Regions from separate parts of the Homo sapiens genome. Here region 1 is linked to region 2. The links are contacts of gene promoters, found by promoter capture Hi-C in human tissues and cell types (Jung and others, 2019). All regions are on one chromosome and are shown on one strand. The core of a region is centred on a gene start or on the middle of the fragment in contact, and the rest is flanking DNA. Distances in the headings are between cores, read along the strand shown.

Evidence for each region. The method cuts DNA at HindIII sites, captures the fragments that hold promoters and counts their contacts. A contact is called where the count stands out against the background at its distance.
Region 1: the fragment with the promoter of CIC here is called in contact with a fragment that was not itself captured in region 2 in 2 of the 25 tissues and cell types used here (dorsolateral prefrontal cortex and lymphoblastoid cells).

The regions. Positions count from the first base shown.
Region 1 is chr19:42,267,723-42,272,478 of GRCh38, forward strand. CIC (capicua transcriptional repressor) reads left to right here and starts at 1,530. Exons shown (of 21, transcript NM_001386298.1): 1 at 1,530-1,659; 2 at 4,052-4,756. The coding sequence starts at 4,062. RefSeq lists enhancers at 520-1,029, 3,189-3,238. The HindIII fragment of the contact is 15,630 bases long and covers 1-4,756 here.
Region 2 is chr19:41,901,884-41,906,894 of GRCh38, forward strand. ARHGEF1 (Rho guanine nucleotide exchange factor 1) reads left to right here. Exons shown (of 29, transcript NM_004706.4): 15 at 4-150; 16 at 391-473; 17 at 650-775; 18 at 901-1,015; 19 at 1,424-1,524; 20 at 1,824-1,901; 21 at 2,152-2,227; 22 at 2,333-2,500; 23 at 3,066-3,153; 24 at 3,292-3,378; 25 at 3,877-3,944; 26 at 4,056-4,142; 27 at 4,574-4,737; 28 at 4,820-4,920. The coding sequence ends at 4,903. Among named protein-coding and RNA genes, the nearest start is that of ARHGEF1, 21 kb to the left of the region's middle. RefSeq lists enhancers at 1,880-2,485, 2,486-3,090, 3,696-4,300. The HindIII fragment of the contact is 9,702 bases long and covers 1-5,011 here.

The DNA of each region.
Region 1 (4,756 bases), core at 280-2,779, 370 kb after region 2:
TGCAATAGACTGGATGCAGTTTCCTCACAAGTGGTGTGAATTCCAGTGTGGAATCTGAACCTGTCACAGGCAAAAGAAAGCCTCCCTGCGGCCAGCGTACCCATATTGCTTCCCATTAGCCTCGGACCAGGGCGAATACAAAGTGGAGGGCATAGATGCATTGCAGACAGGTTCACCATCTGGTTGTAAACCCGTATCTGGGCAGCAGGCATCTACTACAAACAGGGCATCTCCCTGTCCTCCTCCACTCCAGTGTGATACCCTCCTACCCCTGGGATCTTTAAAAATCTGCCTCTGTCAGGGGCGTACACCCACAAAGTGTAGCTCTCCACGTAATGCAGTGCGAAGCCCCAAGAAGCGCTGCATTTCGTCATCTCGGCCCCCTGCCCCAATGCCTAGTGGGCTGTCAAACTGCGCTGTCCTAAATGTCAAACTCTTGGAGGAGGTGACCTGTCCCCCGGGCCCCAGGCCGCGCGCGTTGCCTATACTGCAGCGCGCGACACCCCACAAGCGCGCGTTCTCTCCCCTCCCGGTGGCAACAGGGCTTTCCGCGGGGCCGCGCCAGACTTTTCGAGACCGTCAATTGGTCGTAGTCCCGGCCACCCGGCAGCCAATCAACAAGGGGAAAGGTGACATCACTGGTTCTCCTCCCCTCCCCCAATCCAAACTTCCCTACTCCGTCTACCGGCAGCAACAACCACGTGGGGGAGGGGTAAGAGAGTAGAACCGGTGAGGTCATTGCACCGCCCCGGCCGCTGCTGATTGGCTGCGGGGCTCGCGGGTGGCGGTTGGCTGCTCCTTGCACCTCCCCCTCGTGCCGCTACCGCTGCCACTGAGAGGAGCCACCGGCGACGCCAGAGCCAGGAATACGGGTGAGTCGGGGCCCTGGGTCTAAGATACTCCTGGCGTCCAGTGAGACTCACGACGAACTGCCCTTTTCGACTTTTTCTCCTCGCCGGGTTTCTTTGGTGCTCCAAGCACTCTGTCACATGGGAGTTGTAGTCTGCCTTGTACTGTCGGCTATGGGCCGAAGACGTGAGAAGACTACGGTTCCCAGCAGGAACTGCGACTAGCCGGTCAACAAACGTTCGGGCCACGCCTTCTACCTCCGTTCATTGGACAACCCGTCCCTTAGCCCCTCCTCCTTTCATTTCATTGGCTACTGTCCCTCACAGAGGCTGGGTTCCGGCCTAGGCTGCATGGCGACTGGGTACTGTATTTGTCATTTGGAACTAAGACGGCCTGCAATTGGACACGACTGGTGTCCTTCACTTGTTGTAGGGTAGGGCCCTAGGCAGATCAGGCAGTCGTAGGCTCAGGTTGGTGTCGGTCCCGGAGGGAGGCCGGTCTTGGACTTTGGCCCCGCCCCCTAGCGCTGCCCGATGGGCCCAATTGGTCGCCGCGAGCGTCGCTCGTCGTCGAGAGGCGGAGCCGACCAGTCTGCGGATATCTATTGGTCTAGGCTGGCGCCGGTCAGTGGGGTTGTGATCGCTGATTGGCTGGCTGCTCCAGCTGTTGCAGGTCCATTCACCATTTTGTGTGTTGGAGTAAAAAAAAAAGGGAGAATCGAGAGGGAGAGCCGGAGGGGGGGCGGGGAGGGACCGGACCGGACCGAGCCGGGGCCACGGCCCCCCGCCCCGAAACCCCGCCGAGCCCAAGGTGAGGGGCGGGGCCAGGGCTGACACAGGAAAGGGGGGTCCGGGGGGCTGGGGGCCGAGAGGGGACAGGTGGCAGGGACGGGGAGGGGGTACAGGGGGAAAGGGGTGGGCGGAATGGTGGGAAGGGAGGAGGGAGTGGAGGAAGTGGTGGGGGTTTGACAGAAAAAGGGTAACTGGGGGAGGGGGTGGTGGGCAAAGAAGGGTAACAGGAATGGAGGGGTGACAGGACTAGATCAGGGTGACAGGGAGAGGGAGGGGACAGAGTTGGAGAGTGTGACAAGGAGAGGTGATGGGGAGAGAAGGTGACAGGTCCGGAGATGGCTGACAGGACAGTGACTGGGAGGAATAGGTGACAGAGATAAATGGGGGTGACAAGGAGGGGGTGACAGGAGGGGGCCTAGGGCATTTTAACCGAGAGGTAGAGATAGAGGTAGTGACAGGATGAGAGAGAGAGTGTCAGAGAAGCTGGTGCCAGGAGGGCTAATGGGAACAGAGGGTATGAGACCCCAAAGAGCCAGGGCCTGGGCTGGCCTGGGCTCCGGGAGTTACTACTCAGATCTGAGGAAGGTGAGGGCCCCCGGGGCTTGGGTGGGAGTTATTCAGACAGGGTGGACAGGAAGAGAGTAGGCCCTAGGGGAAAGAAAGCAGCTCTGGGGCGAAGAGAGGCTGGGCCAGGCAGCAAGGTCTAGGGGTCCAGGCGGCATAGTTGTAGGCCCTGGGTGGGGTATGCAAAGGTTTGTGCTTGGAAAAAACTGGAGCCAGATCTCAGTCCCCAACATGGTAGTCTAGTGGGTCAGCGGGTATTAGGTGGTGATGGCTGCCCAACTTCTGGGCATTTGGGTGCCAGCCCCGGGACGCCCTCCAGGCTCTGCCTGTGAGGACCCCAGGATTGGCCCAAGAAAGGGCAGGCCTGGGACTCCAGGGTCCACAGGAGGAGCAGGCCCCTAGTGAGAGAGCATGAGGTCAAGGGTCCCCCAGTAGCTGGAAGACTGAGTCGGGGTTGCCTCTCATTGTGTTTGGCTTATGGTTCTGGGTCCCCCAACCCTCCTAGAGGCCTCTGTTTTGGCCTCTCAGGTTCTCTTAGTCACTTCAGAGTAAAGTTTTTTCCCCTTTTCTTTTCTCAGGGCAGCTCGAAAGGGGGCGGGCAGTAATGACTGTTCAGGAAGTGGGTGAGGTTGGCCTGTTGGGCTTGTCCTGCTTTCTTTGACCTTATCCCACCTATCCCCACTTGGAGTTGGAGGGCATATTTGGGGGCCTGCGGGGGGCTAGCCGACTCAGCCACCCTGCCAGAGCCAGCCCAGCCAGGGCGGGGATGCATGCAGGCAAGAAGAGGGGGGCTGGGCTTGCGGGTATCACGCTGGGTGCTGTGGGGGGAGGAGCAGGCTCCCATCCAGTGGGACAGAGAAACCCTGGGGTGTAGCTCTGTGTCCCACTGTGTGATGACGTGTGCGTGCTTCTGTGCGTGTGTGTGTGTTTGTGCGCGTGCGTGTGCTCATGCACGGCCCCGTGGCAGTGCTGGGTATGAGCTCTTGCCCCAGACATGCCCCTGCCTGCTCCCTGCCAGGATCTGGGGAGATGGCTGTACCTGGCAGCCCTAGGGTGCAGAGCAGAGTGGGCAGCCGTCCCTCGGGACTCTCAGCTGCCCACTTCTTCCCACAGTGCCTGGCCATGCCAGGCTGCCCAGAGGGGCAGAGGGAGGGTGGGGGGGTGGAGAAAGGCTCATATCACAGCCCAGTCACCACCCTTTTTGTGACTTGGTACTTGTGCATGTGTGTGTGTGTCTGAGTGCATGTACTCTCTGCATGGTGACAGTGCGAGTAAATGTGCCCTCTGGATCATGTGACAGGCAGCACACTGAAATGGTCAGGAGCACGGACTCTGGAGCCAGAGAGCCTGGGTTCAGACCCTAGCACTGCTGTTTCCCACCTGGATGATCTTGGACAAGTTGTCTCATCTTTTTGTGGCTCAGTTTCCTCAGGTGTGAAATGAGGCCGATAGTAGCACCTGCTTTTAGGGCTGTTGTGAGGATGAAACAGGTTAATAAAGGCAAGCTTAGCATGGAGTTCAGGACACAGGGAGTGCTCCATAGGTGTGAACTGTTAGTGCTTTTGATGTCCCCTTGGGGCATTCAGAGCATGTGCTCTGTGTCCTTTGCAGAGCCAGCAGGTGTCTGTTCCCCAAGGAGCCAGAGTGTGTATACTCAGGGGACTCAGGTGCTCACCTGTGCCTGGTGCTGACTGAGGTATCACATGAGTTGACAGCAGCCAGAGAGGAGGCCTTGGGGATGGTGGGATGGAGACAGTAGACTCAGCAAGTGGGAAATCTTAGGGTACACTGGCTCTGGAGAGGTTCCTGAGTTGCTCCGCGTAATCCTCCGCTCTCCCACCCTGCAGGTGGACAAAAATGAAGCCAATGAAGAAGGCATGCACTGGCCTTTCAGGTCCTGGCAGTGGCAGCAAGTCCCCCCCAGCCACCAGGGCCAAGGCTCTGAGGCGGCGAGGGGCTGGGGAGGGTGACAAGCCAGAGGAGGAGGATGACGAGGCACAGCAGCCGCAACCACAGTCCGGGCCCGAAGAGGCTGAGGAAGGGGAGGAGGAGGAGGCTGAGCGGGGCCCTGGGGCTGAAGGTCCTCCACTGGAGCTGCACCCTGGCGACCCGGCTCCAGGCCCAGCAGAGGACCCCAAAGGGGATGGGGAGGCAGGCCGCTGGGAGCCCTCACTCAGCCGCAAGACAGCCACGTTCAAGTCTCGAGCGCCCAAGAAGAAGTATGTGGAGGAGCACGGAGCTGGCAGCAGTGGGGTGGCTGGGGCCCCTGAAGAGCGGGTGCGGACCCCTGAGGAGGCCAGTGGCCTGGGGGTGCCTCCACGGCCACCCACCTCCACTCGTTCCTCCTCCACTGACACAGCCAGCGAGCACTCGGCGGACCTGGAGGATGAGCCGGCTGAGGCTTGTGGTCCAGGCCCTTGGCCCCCTGGCAGCACCAGTGGCAGCTATGACCTGCGGCAGCTGCGGTCCCAGCGGGTGCTGGCTCGGCGTGGTGATGGCCTTTTCCTGCCGGCTGTGGTGCGCCAGGTGCGCCGAAGCCAGGACCTGGGCGT
Region 2 (5,011 bases), core at 900-3,399:
CAGAGCTGCTGGTGACAGAGGCGGCCCACGTGCGCATGCTGCGGGTGCTGCACGACCTCTTCTTCCAGCCCATGGCAGAATGCCTGTTCTTCCCCTTGGAGGAGCTGCAGAACATCTTCCCCAGCCTGGACGAGCTCATCGAGGTGCATTGTGAGTGCAGAGCCAGGGTCCCTCTGTGTACCCCACTGCCCCACGGGCAGCTCTGCTCTAGCCCTGGGTTCAACCTGCTCGGGAACCCCAGGGTTCACATGGGGTGGGGGCAGATACGCCATCCGGTCCCGAGGATCAGACACAGACACACCTGCAGCCCTACCCCCACCACACCGCAGCAGGCCCCGCACAGCATCTTCCAGACCCTGGTGGAGCATCCCTTTCCTCCTGCCCCCACAGCCCTGTTCCTCGATCGCCTGATGAAGCGGAGGCAGGAGAGTGGCTACCTCATCGAGGAGATCGGAGACGTGCTGCTGGCCCGGGTGAGATGCCCAGCCCTCCCGCTCCTCCCAGCTAGACACATGGAATTCAGGCCCGGGACGGGTCCTGAGCCCACCCTACTCCAGTCCCAGGGTCTGGGCTTCCAGCCTGTCGTACTTTAGTCCCTGTTCTTGCCCATCCCCACTGAGACACCTGCCTGGCCTGAATCTCGCTGTAGTTTGATGGTGCTGAGGGCTCCTGGTTCCAGAAAATCTCCTCCCGCTTCTGCAGCCGCCAGTCATTTGCCTTAGAGCAGCTCAAAGCCAAGCAACGCAAGGACCCTCGGTTCTGTGCCTTCGTGCAGGTGAGGTGGGGTCTGGACTCCAGCTTCCCAGGGAGGAGGGGCCTGGAGACCCAGACTCCTAGGTGCCTGCGCCCTGGGGTGAGCCCAAAGCCTGGGCCATCGCAACACCAGCATGTTTCCCGCAGGAAGCTGAGAGCCGCCCGCGGTGCCGCCGCCTGCAGCTGAAGGACATGATCCCCACGGAGATGCAGCGGCTGACCAAGTACCCCCTGCTCCTGCAGAGCATCGGGCAGAACACAGGTACCGCGGGCCTGGATCTCTGGGCCTCGGCTCTCCTCTTTTTTTTTTACATTTTTTTTCTCACTCATTTTCATCAGTGATACCATCACAGCTCACTGCAGCCTCAACCTCCCAGGATCTACCATCCTCCCACCTCAGCTCCCCAAGTAGCTGGGACCCCAAGGGCACACCACCATGCCCAGCTAATTTTTTTAGTTTTTTTTTTTAGAGACGGGGTCTCGCCATGTTGCCCAGGCTGGCTTTGAACTCCTGGTCTCAAGCTATCCTCCCGCCTCAGCCTCCCAAAGTGCTTGGATTACAGGCGTGAGCCACCATGCCCGGCCAGCTGTCCTTTGTCTAACCTTGGCTGCCCAATCTGGAGCCTCCAGGGCAGGGGTTCACCAGAGCTGCTCTCTCCCTTGCCTGCAGAAGAGCCCACAGAACGGGAGAAAGTGGAGCTGGCAGCCGAGTGCTGCCGGGAAATTCTACACCACGTCAACCAAGCCGTGCGTGACATGGAGGACCTGCTGGTGAGCCTGGGCTGGCCCCACACCCGGGACAGTGGATGGTGTGAGAGCAGGGGGTGGACCCTACCTCAGCCTGTCCAGAAGTCACACCCCACCCCTTGGCTTGTCTCCCTCAAGGGTCACTGTGTCCAGGGGTTGGCTTGGCCCTCAGCATCTCCCTCTCAGGGTCATTGGAGGTCAGGCCCAACCCTCAGCTTGCCCGCATCAGAAGTTGGTCTTGGCTCTCATCTTACCAATGTGGGTCACTGCAGGTCAGCCCCAGCACTTAGCTTGTCCCCATAATGCTCCCGTCTCTGCCCCAGAGGCTCAAGGACTATCAGCGGCGCCTGGACTTGTCCCACCTTCGGCAGAGCAGCGACCCTATGCTGAGCGAGTTCAAGGTGTGACCATACCCTCCTGCCTCCCCCGCCCCCCTACTCCTTGGCCCAGGGGATTCTGTGATACAGCCCCCAGCCTGTCCTGCCCATCCCATAATACACCCAGGAAGCGAGAGCTCTGTCCCCCACCTCATGCCAATCCCATGATCCCCAGCCTGTGGTCATCCCCGGCCACTGCCCTGCCCTTCCCCTCCCCACCAACCCCAATCACCCCCTGCCAACCTGCACAAACCATCACCCCCTCCTGCCCCAGAACCTGGACATCACCAAGAAGAAATTGGTCCACGAGGGCCCACTGACGTGGCGGGTGACTAAGGACAAGGCAGTGGGTGAGTGCCAGAGCAGCTGCCTAGTGCAGGGTGTTGGGGCAGTGAGCCAAGGGCGGGGAGGGGGTCGCGCGGGGGCACGCCGTGTGAGCACTGCTCGCCCCGTAGAGGTGCATGTGCTGCTGCTGGACGACCTGCTGCTGCTGCTCCAGCGCCAGGACGAGCGGCTGCTGCTCAAGTCCCATAGCCGGACACTGACGCCCACGCCCGATGGCAAGACCATGCTGCGGCCCGTGCTGCGGCTCACCTCCGCCATGACCCGCGAGGTGGCCACCGGTGAGTGCAGCCACTGCATGGCCCAGGGCAGAGGGTGTCTTTTTTGGGCAGAGCTGCCTGTGGAGTGGGGAGCAGAACCCTCTAGAGAGCCAGGGAGCCAGCATTCTAGCAAAGAGGTTGAGAAGTAGGTGGAGGTGGGCAGGGCGGGGCCAGGCCTAGAGGGTTTATAAGTGAGGTAGGAACTGCTGCAGGTGTTTGCACAGAGGCGTGTCTTGTGTAAACAAGGAGAAGAAAGGCCAGGAGTCCAGTGAGGAGGGATTTGTAAACATACTACTAGGAAGTTGCACCAGGGCCACAAACACTGGAAGCGGCTGGAGGGTGGGAGTGGCTGGAGGGGTTTCGTTAGGTAAGCCAGGGTACATGCCCGATTCCATAAGGAGGTGTGAGAGGTGGGGCTCAGGAGGACACATCGGGCCCTGGATATTAGCAGACAGTGAGTGGTGAGTTGAGCCATGGGAGCCCTGAGAGCGCCACCACTGTGGGTGACTTCTCCAGCTTGTGCTTAGGGAGGGGCAGGCACTGGGGGGACCTGGGCTCTGAGCCCCATCTCCCCCTCTCCCTGCAGATCACAAAGCCTTCTACGTCCTTTTTACCTGGGACCAGGAGGCCCAGATATACGAGCTGGTGGCACAGACTGTGTCGGAGCGGAAAAAGTGAGGGGGGGTCTGAGTTCTGAGTGTGGGTGGAGGACGCCCAGGTTTCTGGGTTCCCAGGGACAGGAGGGCTGTGGGGAGGCCCTGGCATAGGGTCTGGGGGCTCTGACTGCCCAGGGATTTGGCCTTTCTCCCCAGCTGGTGTGCTCTCATCACTGAGACTGCCGGATCCCTGAAAGTCCCTGCCCCTGCCTCTCGCCCTAAGCCCCGGCCCAGCCCGAGCAGGTGAGGGGGGCCATGGAGAGAGCTGGAGGTTCAGGGAGTGGGGCCGGAAGGCGGGGCAGGCTTCCCTCCACAACTCCAGAACCGTCTCTGTGTGAGCATGCACATGTGTGAATGCATGTGTGTGCATACATGTGTGTCTGTACGCAAGTATGTGACTGTGCGTGCATATATAGTGTGTGTATGCATGCATGTGTGCGTGTGCATGTGTGTGCGTGTATGGTGTGTGTGTATGCATATGTGTGCATGCGTGTGACAGCATGTGCATGCATGTGTGTGTGTGTGCGCATGTGCCGACCCCACCACTGCCCCGTCTGTCTCCTGTCTCCAGGCCTCTGTGTCTTCCATTGTCTGGGCCTCTCTGTCTCCCTGTCTCCCGGCCTCGACCTCTGTCTCTGTCTCCGGACCTCCCTGCCTCCCCACCTCCAGCTCTCTGTCTCCCTGCCCCTGCGGCCCCCCAGGGCCAGGGGTGTGGGGTCACCCAGCACTTCCTCCCCTCAGCACCCGAGAACCCCTCCTCAGCAGCTCTGAGAACGGCAATGGTGGCCGAGAGACGTCTCCAGCTGATGGTGAGACCAGAGGGATGCTGGGTGAGGGGCCAGGTTGGGGCTGCCGGGTGAAGAGAGGCATCCACAGGAGGCCCGGCAGGATCTGAGCTCCCTCTCTGTTCCCCAATCCAGCCCGGACCGAGAGAATCCTCAGTGACCTCCTGCCCTTCTGCAGACCAGGCCCCGAGGGCCAGCTCGCTGCCACGGCCCTTCGGAAAGGTAGCCCAGCTCTGCCCCTCCAGGGTGGCCACCAGCCCAAACAGTGCCTCTGTTCCAACTAGAACAAGGCTCTCCACGTCAAAAATTTCCTTACGCCCAGCTGCCAGAAAACAAATGCTCCAAACCCACCCAGCCTGCACCACTGTCCTGGGTGCCCACGTCCCTCTTCTGCAGCCACCATCCCTTGCTTGATTCTATATTTAGCCTCTTCCTGAACACATCTCTGTCTTCAGTACCTTCCTGCCCTGTCCCAACCCTAAACCCAGCCTCACTTCTTCACCTCCCTTTGGATCCCCGAACCCCATCTGCTCAGCCTTGCCTGGCACCCACCTTCACCTCCAGCCCCTACACATCCCCTTTGGAATCCCCCATCCCAGATCCCAGCCCAGCCCCCTGGTCTCCTGACTCCACCCCTCCTTGCCCCTGGCCAGTGCTGTCCCTGAAGCAGCTTCTGTTTCCGGCGGAGGAAGACAATGGGGCGGGGCCTCCTCGAGATGGGGATGGGGTCCCAGGGGGCGGCCCCCTGAGCCCAGCACGGACCCAGGAAATCCAGGAGAACCTGCTCAGCTTGGAGGAGACCATGAAGCAGCTGGAGGTGGGGCGGGACGGGCCAGGGGTGCCCTGAGTGGGCTGGGGAAGGAAGGGGCCCCCCTCATCCATGACCCCCACCCCACCAGGAGTTGGAGGAGGAATTTTGCCGCCTGAGACCCCTCCTGTCTCAGCTTGGGGGGAACTCTGTCCCCCAGCCTGGCTGCACTTGAGGTTCCCGCCCAGGAAGGTGAGTGGGGCACCTGGGGGCCAGGGCGCTGTCCTGAAAGGAGGGTCCCCCTCCAGAGCTCGCATCCCTACAGCCCCTTCTGTCCATCTCC